2 separate regions of the Homo sapiens genome follow, and region 1 is linked to region 2. Evidence: promoter capture Hi-C in 16 types of primary human blood cells and fetal thymus (Javierre and others, 2016). All regions are on one chromosome and are shown on one strand. Each heading gives the region's core, a stretch centred on a gene start or on the middle of the fragment in contact. The rest is flanking DNA. Distances are from core to core; before and after follow the strand shown. Region 1 holds the start of OXCT1-AS1 (OXCT1 antisense RNA 1). Region 2 has its middle 87 kb from the start of FLJ32255.

Region 1 (6,484 bases), core at 2,627-5,126, 1.0 Mb before region 2:
ATGCAAACTTTTCTTCATTCTCTACCAGGGCAGTAAGACCAACTTGTCATTTATTGGAGTTTAGTTTTAATTTTTAACCACCTCACTCTACCCTATACACACACTCCACTGATTTTACAAAGAATGTTTTTAAACACAATTCATACTGTAGCAAATTAACCCAGGTGATCTTTGTTGAAGGTTTTCAAAAAGACATAGGCCTTAGCTTTAAGATTACTTTCACATGAGGTGATATTTATTTTGTCACCTTACAGTTAAATAAATGACAAGGAACAGCTGATATTGTCCAAGTATCACAGTTTGAGAAACAAAAGTGGGGAGAAGTTATATGGAGAGAAGTAAAGAGATACACGTTATAAAGAAAAGGCAGTAATATGTGAGTGGATACACTCACAGACCTGCAGAGCACGGCATCACTCCCAAGAGGTAGTGATGTGTGTGAAAATACTTTAGCTGTCCAGAAGAGGACCGGTGTCTACCAAAGGTAGAATTTTCACCTTGAACTAAACACTGCCAATTATGCACATGTGACAAGAATAAATCTCAAGGAGCTCACAGAGAGTTACAACACTAGGCAATTCTCTACAGCAGTGGTGTGCATTGTTATTGAGGGAACATACATGTTCTTCTCCAATGCTGGAGGGATACTCAGTGCTCCGAAGGAGCACAGATGAAGGAGTAATTCATTCTACCTGGTGGACTAGAAAACCAAAGTTTGCCAGGTGTTAAATACTTGTCAGGACAGTGATTCCAAACAAGGGAGCCACATGAGTAAGAGTTCAGCGATATGAAAAGGCTGTGTGGTTACAGACATGCGGGATCAGGTCTCATGGAGAGAGGTTCATGAAGATGAGGCTGGAGAAGCAGACTGAGGCAGTTTGTAAAAAGCCTTACAGACCACACTGCAGAGTTTCTTTTTTCTTTTCTTTTTAATTTTTTTATTTCCATAGGTTTTTGGGGAACAAGTAGTATTTGGTTACATGAGTAAGTTCTTTAGTGTTGATTTGTGACTTGATCATTCCATGACGAAGGGACAGCAAAGCTTTTGAAACAGATGTCACAACTCAAAGGAAGCCTGAATTAAGAAAGTGGTATGGAAACTCATTATTTCTTTCCTTCACTCATTTGTACCAACTATACAAAATACTGGGGCTACAAAGTTAAAATATTGAAAATAAAACCCAGACATAGCCCCTGCTATAATGAAACTTACAAACTAGCAAAGATAGTAGTCATTAAATAATTACAAAATTTTAAACACAATCATAGTATTTAATTGGGGAGCTATAAGGAAGAAACAGTTGCTGAGAAAGAATGCCAGGGACAGCACTGAGGAACATTTCAGAAAGAGGCACACATATGACACTTGGTGATCAATTGGAAGTGCAGCAAGGAGAAGAGAAGATGGTTCCAGGATTTCCAGCTTATATACTGGATGGATACTGGTGCTGTTAAGCACAGTGATAGAAGAACAAAACAAGGAATGGGAAAGCCACTTTATGGCTAGTTTGCTTTGGATCAGAAAGAGCTTTAAGCACCAACTGACATCCAAGTGAAGTTCACCAGTTGCACCAGAAGGACTGCAGCTCAGGAGAGTCAGAGGTTGGAAAGAGATTTGGGAAAAGACAGGGTCAAGGATGAATGGTGGGTAAAGTGTTAGTGGTACTCTTATAACCTTTTTCCCACTAATAATTTTCTATAGTGAAAATAGTATTAAATGCTCCCCACTGCCCCTCAGTAATAATGAAGAAAAGAAGATACCTCCCAATAGTCTATTTTCACCTAAGTCCATGCCAGATAACTCTGAAAGGGGCAGTCAGTCCCCAGACCAGCAGCATCAACATCACCTGGAACTTATCAATGCAAAGTTTAGGGCCCCACCCAGGACCTATTAAATTAGAAATTCTGGGGGTGGGTACAGCAATCTGTTTTAGAAAACCTCCAGGTAATGCTGATGCACTCTCAGGTCTGCGAGACACTGGGCCTGCCCATTATAAAAATGTTAAACATTTAAGAAAATAACTATCTCGTTTTAGCTGTTAGTTATGTTTAGTGGAAAAACTCAAGGTTTCTGTTTGCCTGGAGGGTTCTCTCATCCGTACTTTAAACATGTGTAGAATATCTGATCTATGCAGAGTAGTGTGTTTGTTGAGGGAGACTAAGTGTAAGGCATAAATATGGTCTCTGCCATCGGGGAACTGTCATCTGGTTGAGGAGACAATATACACATCTGAAAAGTTAAACAAGTAGATAAGTGGTACAGTTCAACAGAAGCAGCAGGTGAGGATTTAAAGTGCTAAACAATAAGGGCTGTAATCCCAGCACTTTGGGAGGCCGAGGCGGGCGGATCACGAGGTCAGGAGATCGAGACCATCCCAGCTAAAACGGTGAAACCCCGTCTCTACTAAAAATACAAAAAATTAGCCGGGCGTAGTGGCGGGCGCCTGTAGTCCCAGCTACTTGGGAGGCTGAGGCAGGAGAATGGCGTGAACCCGGGAGGCGGAGCTTGCAGTGAGCCGAGATCCCGCCACTGCACTCCAGCCTGGGCGACAGAGCGAGACTCCGTCTCAAAAAAAAAAAAACAATAAGGGCACTAAGAGCCACAAGCTAGGGGAATAGTGGAAGGCAGGAGTTAGACCTATGATAATCAAGCCTGACAGGGCTAAGTTTGAACTCTGTATGAACTTTTAATGAGATATAGCAGAACCCCTTATTTGCATCTCGTCCCTCTAAGATGAGGTTTGCTGAGCTTCGGAAATGGTTTAATGATATACTCAAGATGGAAAAGACTTGAAGTGAGTAAATTACAGTTGGGCAAATCAGTAACTGTCAAAAGAAGGAACGTTCCTGACCTCGGCCCAAGGGTATCGCTGTGCTCTGGTTTGTATTAGCTTCAGCACCGCTGCAATCTCACTGAAGGTCAAGTTCCCTTTTAATAATGCTTTATATATCCAAGTCTATCTGCAGTTATAAAAATGCTTCCTAAGAGGCATTTAAGAGTAAAATGGTCCAGTTCTGAACCATTCCCTAGCACCTACCGAAGGAGCTCAGTGGCTCCTCTGTGTTCTCAGCGGTCAGGGATTGGATGCAGGAAAGAGCAATGGGGCCAGGCAGGCACGCTTCAGGAGTAAGCACCGTGTGCATGGCACGCTGTCAAGCTCAGACCTATTACTGAATACCAAGGAAGAGGCTCCCGCGATTGAGACGGCGGGGATAAAGCCACCCTCCTGGACCTGGCGCTCTGGTCCTGTAATTCGCTCCTAGGGCTCCAGACAGGGGTGGGCTTACAAGCGAGGACAGTGCATAAGGCAAAACCACAAGTCAGTCCACGGTGGGAATGCCTCCGGATACCACTCGGTGGAGAGTCGGCAGTGGGGCACAAAAAGGATTTCAAAGGGCTCTGAAAACCGAAAGCCCCTAACCCGGATACGAGGGGCCTCGAGAGAAAGGTTTGTCCTCCCCTGCAGCCCAGGCGCGGGCCAGGGACACACCTCGGATGGTTTCCCAGCTTGGCCGGCAAGACGCCCTGGCGAGCGCTCCAGTCTACGGGGCAGCAGAGCCAAATAGGGAGGAGAGGATGGGAGCGGCATTCCACACCCGCCGCACCCGGCATCCAGCCCCGGTGAACTCGAGCAGAGCCATGGCTAACCCAGCCTCAGGTTCTGGGCCTCTAGAGGTTCCTCTGCCCAGAGATCCAACATCGGGGGCGCAAACCTACCCGCTGTTGCCTCACTCCTAAACCTCCATATACTGGCGCCCTCCTCCCCCCGTTCAGACCCTCAGAGTCCCTATCCAAGGGCGGGTGCCAGGAGGGAAGCCGACGAGCGCCAAAGGGCTCGGGAGCGCTGCCAGGAGTCCTCCCGCCCCTTCTCAGCCTCTCCGCGCGCTTCTTTATCGCGTCTCGCTCCATCAGGGAAGCGACTGCAGAACCAAGCAAAGGCGGTCATCCGAGGGGCCGGCGAGGCCAGGAACGCGTCGCCGCGTGTCCGTGACCAGGGCACCGCGCCACGGATGCCAGATCCCAGGCTGGAGAGAGCGGGTAGGGGCAGAGAAGAAAACGCGGGCACCACTCAGGGTTTGGTCCACGTTCTTCCTGCCCATGGCCTTCCTCTTCCCCCGCACTTTACCTTGTACCAGGTTGCCCCAGATCCGCGGGCAGAGGCGCAGAGCCGAAGCCCGGAGGAGAGGAGTTTGAGAGCCGCCATCTTCGGGCGGTGAGGCAGGAGGAGGCTGCGGGTTGGAGCGCGCGTTTGAGCGTCGGTGCGCGACTGCGAAGGAAACCCGGGCGGGCTGGAGGCTCGACAGCGCGTCGATGACGTCCTCCCGGCCTTTCGAGCCGCACGCCACCGGCGCGCTGCTGGCTGCTGCTTTTAAAAGAAGTGAGGCTGGGCGGGGCCCCGGCGGGGAGAAGAGGCTCTGTGCAGCCGGGGCGGATCGCGGGGAAGTTCCTCTCAGCGCCTCAGGTGTCTGGGCGTGTGCAGCTGTGTTGGCGCACACTTGCCGCTACAGCCCTTCTGTCAGCCCTTTAGCTTCGATGGGGCGCTGGTGGCCGCCTCCCCCTAGGTTGTGGATGAGTCTTGGCCTAGGGTTCAGGGCCCTCCGGCCGCGGGAGGATCTCCCGCCAAGCTTGTTGCTTTTCCAAGTTAGTGCCTGGCGTGTGTGTGGGCTGCATAGGGGCACCCCTCGAGGCCCCCTTCTCTTCTCCCGCCTGGACTGCGTTCACGTTTCTAACATTTCTCAGCCCCTTCTCCCCACATCTGGCCTTGGCTTACATAGAGTAAGTTTGCTGTGAGCACTTGCCTCGAACTGTCGGTCAAGAGGTGTGAGCAACAAGGCTTGCAGAGGAACAAGATTAAGACTGGACCTCTGTGACCTGAGTTTAGCACACCTTTTCTTCCCCATCATCCAAGTTTGCGAATTTCGGGCTCTTTCTCGCACTGGAGTCCCAGCAACCCCAGAGATTACTAAAGATGCAACCATAAAAGCAGTATATTGCTTTAACCTTAGGCAAGTTAGATAACTTCCCTAAGCCTCAGTGTCCTCATCTGCAAATTAGGATTGCTTGTGATACAACGTCATAACGTTTCTATGAGTTAATTCATGCAAAGTTTATGGCCTTATTATGAGGAGTCAATAAATGTTAGGCATTATTATAAGTTTATTCCATTGTAGCAGTTCATTGACATGGCACGTACATATTCGCCAAGCCTTGTCTTTTGACCAACTCCTTGAGGACATGAGCCACGACTGATTTCTCCAGAACTGTCTTTGCACTTAGCAGAGTGGAAAGACCAAGTGGAAGCTCAATAGCATTTTATTTGATTAAGGCCTGACCAAGTTCTGAGAATGTGATGTTAGTTTTGAACCAAAGCAAAGCACACAAAAATTAAATGAGATCTTAGCTTCCTTAGCAAATACAGTAAGGTAATGAACAGTGAAGATGCAGTTCAAAGTTTGTCCATAAAATCATTTGCCCTTTCATGGTATTCTTTTAACTCTGAACTTTTTTTTTTCCTGTAAATATTATAATTTTAGTCAAAATCAGTTAAGGAGTAAGATACCAAGTTAGACTATTCAATTACACTGGAGAAATTAACTTATTGCTAGTTGGTATTTCAACACATTTTAAGAAGTTGGATTGGGGGGAAATTCAAGTACTGTAACTAAAGTCCCATAACTAGTGATAATTTAGCATATAGCAGCTGTTGTACCTTTAACTTACACAATGTGAAAAAAACTAGCATTCCAATTGAGTCTGCTTTTCCACTTTTGCCCATTGCGATTGGGTCTGCTTTTCCACTTTTGCCCTTCCACAGGGCACATGAAATGGAAAAACTGCATTGGCAACTTTGCCGGTGGTCATATGACTGACTCTTGGCTGGTCTCACTTTGTTGCTCTTGGCTGAGGAAGACACATTTTAAATGTTGCATGCTATGTGACTAAGTCTCCTGAGAAAATCACCCTAATTACTGTATGGTCAAAACACACTGTACTGTATTTTTGATGACTGTGACTTCATTTTATACTTTTTAAATAATGTGCAAGTCTCTTCAACTTGAATAAATTAGATTACAAATTACAAAAAAAGTTCTTATGTGCTGATTTCACTTCTAGTTACACAAAGGCACTTCAATTTTAATTGGTGTGCAAAATTTTACTTCTTTTAAATATCTGAACTTTTCCGAACTAGTAAGGATATTTCCCACTTGCTTTGAAAGGCAGTTTCTGGCAAATATGTTATATTCTGGAAACCTTTCTTTGTGGAATCTTACAGTTTAACTTCCACACTTTTAAAAACTGGGAGAATTGGATTCAAAGCCTTTAAACAAAAGGTCTGATTCCAGTCATGCAATGAGGAAAGATTTTTTTGTTTGTTTTTTTGTATTTTTTTTTGTTTTTTTGTATTATGTTATGATACGTATGTGTATGTGTGGGTGTGGGTGTACATACACCAAGTCATGTGCTACATAACATTTTGGTCAA
Region 2 (7,239 bases), core at 3,530-6,029:
AGCTACTCGGGAGGCTGAAGCAGGAGAATCGCTTGAACCTGCGAGGCGGAGGTTGCGGTGAGCCAAGATCGCGCCATTGAACTCCAGCCTGGACAACAAAAGTGAAACACAAAAAAAAGAAAAGAAAAAGAAGGAAGGAAGAAAGAAAGAAGAAAATGTATGGCTTTACAAAAGTCCTGGGATGCTCCATTTTTTTTTTTTTTTTTTTTTTTTTTTTGAGGCAGAGTCTTGCTCTGTCGCCCGGGCTGTGGCGTGATCTCGGCTCACTGCAAGCTCCGCCTCCCAGGTTCTCGCCATTCTCCTGCCTCAGCCTCCTGTGTAGCTGGGACTACAGGCGGCCACCACCACGCCCGGCTTTTTTTTTTTTTTTTTTTTTTTTTTTTGTATTTTTAGTAGAGACAGATGAGATGCTTCTTTTCACAACCTAGCCTAGACTAATATTTTATTCATTACTCAATGTGATTGACATGCTGCAGGACCTGGATTCTGAATCCAGATTCTAGCAGAATTAGCTTTCTGATCTTGGACTATGATCTAACCTCATTGTGTCTCCTATCTACAACCAGTCAATGCCTCTAAAATATGCAAGAAGAATGAGACATAGTAGGTGTAATTGTCTAGGGTGCCCTGAAATAAGGATACACTTTCTATAGTGAATGGACAGTGAGTAACTGGATCATGCCAGCAGTGGAACATCTCCATTGCTCTCTTTCCTTGGCTGATTCAATCATAGCAACCCAGCAGCGTTTTCAGAGTATCTTCCAGAATGATACAATTTTCACCTTAATCCTACTCTGAACTGATTTGCAAGGCAAATTAGTGTTAATCTCCTGCTTATTTGAATAGCTGGTTTCTGGCCTATATACAAGAAAAAGCATATTATAAAAACACACTCAGGCCGGCGTGGTGGCTCATGCCTGTAATCCTAGCACTTTGGGAGGCCAAGGCTGGCAGATGACGAGGTCAGGAGTTCAAGACCAGCCTGACCAACATGGTGAAACCCTATCTCTACTAAAAATACAAAAATTAGCCGGGGGTGGTGGCACGCACCTGGAGTCTCAGCTACTCGGGAGGCTGAGGCAGAAGAATCGCTTGAACCCGAGAGGCAGAGGTTGCAGTGAGCCAAGATCATGCGACCGCACTCCAGCCTGAGTGACAGAGCAGGACTCCATCTCAAACACCCACCCACAGACACACACACACACACACACTCAGTACTAGCCTGAGTCATTTACCTCTTTTCCTAGTTCAGCTACATGGCTGGCCTCATCACAAGGCTGAACCCATGGAGTTCTGTCCACCAACCCTGGAAGAACAGTCTTGGAGGTAGGCAGGTCCAGAGTGCTTGTCACATGCCACCAGGACAGGACCAAGAACAAACCTGTGCCTGGGCACTAGATCACTTGCTGTGCTGAACACCACTCCTGCCAATGCCCTTTGCTCTGTGAGGATGTAAAATCAGGTGTGTGTGGGCTGCTGTTTTGGGTTTCCAGCAGGCTCAGAGCTGTTCTCAGACTCAAGAGGGACCCAATCGCCATCAAAACCCACATGTCCAGAAGTCAGTGGCTGAAACCACAAAGTAGCTCCAGTCGCTTTAAGACAAGATGGATTAGGCCAGGCATGGTGGCTCGCGCCTGTAATCCCAGCACTTTGGAAGGCTGAGGCAAATGGGTCACCTGAGGTCAGGAGTTCGAGACCAGCCAGGTCAACATGGTGAGCCCCGTCTCTACTAAAAATACAAAATTAGCCAGGCATGGTGGTGCATGCCTGTAATCCAAGCTACTTGAGAGGCTAAGGCAGGAGACTCACTTGAACCTGGGAGGCGGAGGTTGCAGTGAGCCGAGATCGCGCCATTGGCCTCCAACCTGGCAACAAGAGCGAAACTCCCTCTCGGAAAAAAAAAAAAAGATGGATTCTGCCAATAGCAGGGTTCAGTGGGTCCCAAACCAGCCAGGAGATGCCAGCGCTTGCAGAGCTGAACAGACACATACCCAGGACGTCTCCTTAAACTGCTCACAATCAAGGCTTGAAATACTGAAGAACCCTGAAAGGGAAAAAAAACTTTTCTTGCTCATTACTCACAGTGAGATAGGAGTTTGGCAGGACTAGTTTCTCAAGACAAACAGGATGCTAGGTCCCCAAGACACAGGTCACAGTACCCGGTACAAGATTCCTTAAAAAAAATTTAAAAATTGTTTTAAAAAAGCCCAAACCAGCTAGAAGGAAAATGGCATAAAAGCTACCTCTGGTTACCTTCATTGCTCGTTATATGCTAATTATTATGCATTGGCATGCTAAAAGACTACCACCAGAGCAATGACTGTTTATAAGTGCCATGGCAATCCCCAAGAGTTACTCTGTATCTTCTGTAAGGTAGATAAACCCCCGGTCCACAAGCTCCTGCCTCTTTCCCAGATAACTAAAGAAATAGTCGACCCCTCATTTAGCATATAATCAAGAAATAGCCATAAAATAGCCAGCTAGCTGCCCTGTCCCTTGGTGCTACCCTGACTACGGGGGTAGCCTTCTTTTTGTTTCCTTAATACACTTGCTTTCACATTACTCTTTTGGCTTGCTCTTGAATTCTTTCTGGTACAAGCAAAGTATCCACTTGGCTTCCCTGGCTGAATGCCAATTCTGGGGGTATCCTTGCATCAACAGCACCACTGCCTTCAACCAATGCCCTGGAAGGAGCTCCTCACACCCCAGTGGGGACCCTCATGATGTTATTGTAAACTTGCTTGGGACTCTGCCTTCTAGATAGAGGCAACAGGAGCAAGAAGTTTCTATGTTGGAGATCATTCCTTGTTTAGTTCTTCCTCTCCAAAGTACTAGGAGCAAGAAGTCTATGATGGAGATCATTCCTTATTTAGTTCTTCTTCTCCAAAGTACCTCAAAGATTTCCAAATTATAAAAACTATCTTTGTGTAATCAAGAATATGCTAAGGAACTTTACTTCTAGATAGACTCAGAATTCATGGTAGATGGTAAATTTTGTTATATGTATTTTACCACAATAAAAATAAATAGAAAATAAAAGACAAGAAGGAAATGAAAGAATTGAGTGACTACCACTGCCCTGCTTCTCACTAACATCCCAAGTTGTCTTTGAGGACACACCTCTCCTCAAGCTTTTCTCTGCCTGGAGAACAAGATTGCAGTCTCTGCTCCAGGACTAGCAATGTGGTTTGGGGCAATAATAAACTATTAACCAGGGTTCCTCAAAAGAGCTTTCCCTCCACAGGTTAAGGAGTACCTTTTCTTTTTATCACTTAAACCACCCTATCACAGATTGAGTTTCGTCTAAGATGTTAGGGTTTTATGTTAATACCAGTAATTCCATCTTCTGTTACAATTTGCTTCTAGAATTAATATCACCACTATGCTTCCTATGATCTGATTAGGACCAGGCACTTGGCCAGAAAAGTGTAAAAACTCAAAAGCTGATGTCTCCTGCTGTGAGACTGGATGAAACACCTTTTCCCTTGTGTTCAGGAGCCCTTGGATTACACAATTCCATATTGCTTTCAGATTGGCCAGCCCAGAGGAAATCTTAGCAGATAATCTAACCTGGGTGTTGCACACAGAGGCCACCCTGAGGGAGCCAAAGCCAGGGCTGCATTCATAGTCCCTTTATCCCCTAGACCTTCAAAAGGTTTCAAATTGAAATCACGATCATGTCATCTAAGATAACAATTAATTTCTCTTTACAATTAATTGCCATTCAGGGATGTTGTGGTTTGAATATTTGTCCCTTCTGAAACTCATGTTGAAACTTAATCCCCAATGTAGCAATATTGAGAGGTAGGGCCTTTAAGCAGTGATTGGGTCTTGAGGGCTCTGCCCGTTTGATGTCTTAATCCATTTATGGATTAACGGTTAATTGGTTAATGGAATAATGGGTTATCAGAGGATTGGGATTGTGGTTTTATTTTTTTTTAAGTAGATTTTGAGACTTCAGAACAGAAAATGAGGATGATAAGATGGGAAGCCCCCTCCATATCCAAACCACAAAAACACTCTAACTCATCTTTCACCATCTGCTTATTTTTTATGACATGGATAATTGACATGTAATTAGTCTAATAATGAGTGCAAAGCAAACACAGCTCTAGTTCCACGTTCCAATAAGATGCAACATCTAAGCTTCTCTATACTGATACTTAGAACTGCCACTATGTGAAAAGATTGATGTAATCACAGCTAGACTAGATTAATGCTGTCATCTAGTTTATGGGTTTTGATTTCTAACATTTGAGGGGACAGAAAAGTGTAAAAGTCCCAAGTGTATTCTCTACTGCATGTTTTTCATCTCTGCCCAAGGATTTTGGTGTAAAGGCTGGAAACCTTTACACCAAATCTTTACACTAAAGTTGTGAAGACACATAAATCTTTCTCCTGGGATGCCCACAAGAAGGAATGAGTCTTAGTTGCTGCAGGACCTGAGATGGGCAGAGATTATGAGAGCCTCCCATACACTTGGTGTTCTGCACTGAATTGTGTTCCCCCAAAATTCATGATAATTTTGATTAACTAATCTCCAAGTGATGGTATTTGGAGATGGGGCCTTTGGGAGACAATTAAGTTTAGATGAGGTCATGAGGGTTGGGGTTTCATAATGGGATTAGTGCCCTTATGAGAAGAGGAAGAGATACCAGGTCCCTCTCCTTCTCTCCCTTTCTTCTCTTGCCCCTCTACCCACTTCTCTCTCTCCTTCTGTGCCATGTGAGAACACAGCTACAACATGGCCATTGGCATGACAGGAAGACAGCCCTCACCAGGAGCTGAATCACTGGCGCTTTCATCTTGGACTTCCAGATCCTGGGCAAGACTCACCAAGGCAGACATCTGTAGCTGCCTGGAATTGTCTGATCTGGAGTTGATGCTCTGGAACCCTGTGGTTGTTAACTCAGAAGGCACAAGGCTAGGGATCTTCTTTCAGTCCCCGTTAGTCTATCCCCACTCTTCATTTTCTCTTTTGTTTTTCAAGTAATGAATTTATTTTTCCAATTAATGTAGCCAGCTCATGGTACAGCATATTAAAGCATAAAGTACAAATCCAAGGAAGGTAATACCTTTACTATGTTATAAAACTTTGACAAATCAATATATTACTTTTTATTATAATAAAAGCATATGTTTCTGGGAGTCATATACTACTTTAGGGATAATTTTTACTCCAAAAATATTCAAGTACTAAACCAAAACACTGGTTTTTAATGGTGGTTTATAGCAGAGCAAGTTATTTTATACACATTAATATCATTTAAAACTGAGCAATTTCTCCTTTTAAAGTGAAGTTCCTTATGCAAGCTGTTGAAGTTTATGGCAGCAGGGCAATTGTGTGTATATAAGAGGTGGCTCTGCTTTGTTCTGAAGTTCCACCAAAGTCAGGTAGTGTTCCCAGGTGTTAAAAGCTTTAAAATTCTACCTCAAAATGATTCAATGTCAATGCAAACTGCCAAGTACTTTTTGAAAAATTTTTAAATTTTCACATAAATACTGGAACTCTCAAAATTAGACAATCATTTCAAACAACACTTATTTTAGATGATCCCTTTTATTTAGACACCCTGAACCTCTTTGTTTTTATTCCATGTCACAAAGTCTTCTATCAGTCTATTTTTTAAAAATTCTACCTAAGATACGGTTTTAAAATAACAGATTGCAAGGTTGGAGACACCTGGGGTACTTGATGTCTTCCAACATCCATTATCATTTCTCTGTAAATGATGCTGCTACTATCCGAGTTCTTATGCTTCCTCTTTTTGAAGCCAGCAATTTCTCAATCTTAACATGTAGTTTAAGTATTACCCATTCCAGTGCTTCTCAGCCTTTATTAGCATTTGAAGATATTGTACTTGTCTTCAGTTCTTCAAGGTAACTGCTGAGGCTGATTCTTTTCACAATGATTGTGGTTTCTTGAGTCAAAATAGTTTTTTTTCTGGGTCCTGAAGACTATGTTTTGGCTCTTGCTGCAACAGTAAGGGACTTGCAGTTCCCACTCTGTGCAGAGAAGTCTGTGGCCTTGCAACTTTCCAGAGGGATCTATATATCCTTCCAACACATCAACCCACACCCTGCTCAGGTTCGCAGGGCTTGGGTATTTGTGCATTGCAGCTGTTGTAACAGTTTCCCACGGGTGGTGAAAGACGTGCTCTGCAGTCCAGATCTTGATGGTGCAGGCAGTCTGCTAGATGTCTGTGAAGCGCAGGGGAAAATGAGGTGAGGAGGCTACACCTGTCCCACCCCGTCGGGGGCCCTTCAACCAGCTTCGCTGTGCGCAGGTGCCGTCGGCTCCAAGTGAGGCGGTCCTCCACTCTTCGTTACAATGTAACATTTAAACCATTTAAAGCAGAGATCCGCAACGTTTTTGGCACCAGGGACCAGTTTAGTGGAATACAATTTTTCTACGGATGGAGAGGGGTGTGGGGATGGTTTCGGGATGAAGGTGTTAGAAATCAAATAATCAGGCACGCAATAGATTCTCAAAAGGAGAGCAAAAGCTAGTCTTGGTCCTGCGCATGCGCAGTTCACAATAGGGTTCGCACTCCTGTGAGAATTTAATGCAGCAGATCTGACGCTAGGCGGAGCTCAGCCAGTAATGCTCGCTTGCCCACTGCTCAGCTCCTGCTTTGGGGCCGGGTTCCTAACCGGTCCGTGGTGGGGGGGATTGGGGACCCCTGATTTAAAGAACAGTGCTAATGCCTGTTTTCTGCCTTTATTTGGAGGGCCACAGTCAGTTTCAAAGCAACTCCAGCATATGATCCACCCAGCTGTCCCCTCCCACCCTGTTAGTATCCACAGCTCCTCAAAGGCCCCTGGAATTTAGACTAAAGCCTGATCACGCCACTGCACACCGGCCTAGGCGACCCAGCGAGACCCCCATCTTAAATAATAATAAGACTCAAAAGAAAAAGAAAAAGCTCTGAGCTAGGTCCCTGCCCCCTTTCTGTCTGCTTCAGGCCCATCTATACCAACCTTGATTTACTAGTTTTGATTCCACAGTTGGAGAATAAGGGAAAGGCTTTAATCAATGTGTACAGTTTCGATGGAAGAACCATCACAATTTTGAGTAGATCTAAAAGAAAAGTTCCTTAGCACATTGCATATTATTCACTACATGAAGAGAGTTTTTCTAAATAAAAATGTTTAGGACATTCAGGAGAGGAAGAACAAATTATGGAATGATCTCCACAGCAAAGACCTCAAGGCTCTTATGCGTGCAGGGCACAGTTC

What was found. Contacts are between HindIII fragments. The CHiCAGO score rates a contact against its expected background, and 5 or more counts as called.
Region 1: the fragment with the promoter of OXCT1-AS1 here is called in contact with a fragment that was not itself captured in region 2 in 9 of 17 cell types (M2 macrophages, total CD8 T cells, M0 macrophages and 6 more); the score reaches 8.3 in M2 macrophages.

Annotation. Positions count from the first base shown.
Region 1 is chr5:41,866,154-41,872,637 of GRCh38, forward strand. It overlaps OXCT1-AS1 (OXCT1 antisense RNA 1), which reads left to right and starts at 3,877. Exons shown (of 3, transcript NR_046635.1): 1 at 3,877-4,039; 2 at 4,138-4,229; 3 at 4,613-6,088. OXCT1 (3-oxoacid CoA-transferase 1) reads right to left here and starts at 4,272. Exons shown (of 17, transcript NM_000436.4): 1 at 4,128-4,272. The coding sequence starts at 4,205. It overlaps LOC102723752 (a long non-coding RNA gene), which reads left to right. Exons shown (of 3, transcript XR_925956.4): 1 at 1-3,449. RefSeq lists enhancers at 3,909-3,988, 4,819-4,868. The HindIII fragment of the contact is 3,584 bases long and covers 1,041-4,624 here.
Region 2 is chr5:42,902,490-42,909,728 of GRCh38, forward strand. It overlaps the pseudogene PRELID3BP5. Among named protein-coding and RNA genes, the nearest start is that of FLJ32255, 87 kb to the right of the region's middle. RefSeq lists enhancers at 6,040-6,089, 6,220-6,279. The HindIII fragment of the contact is 1,271 bases long and covers 4,145-5,415 here.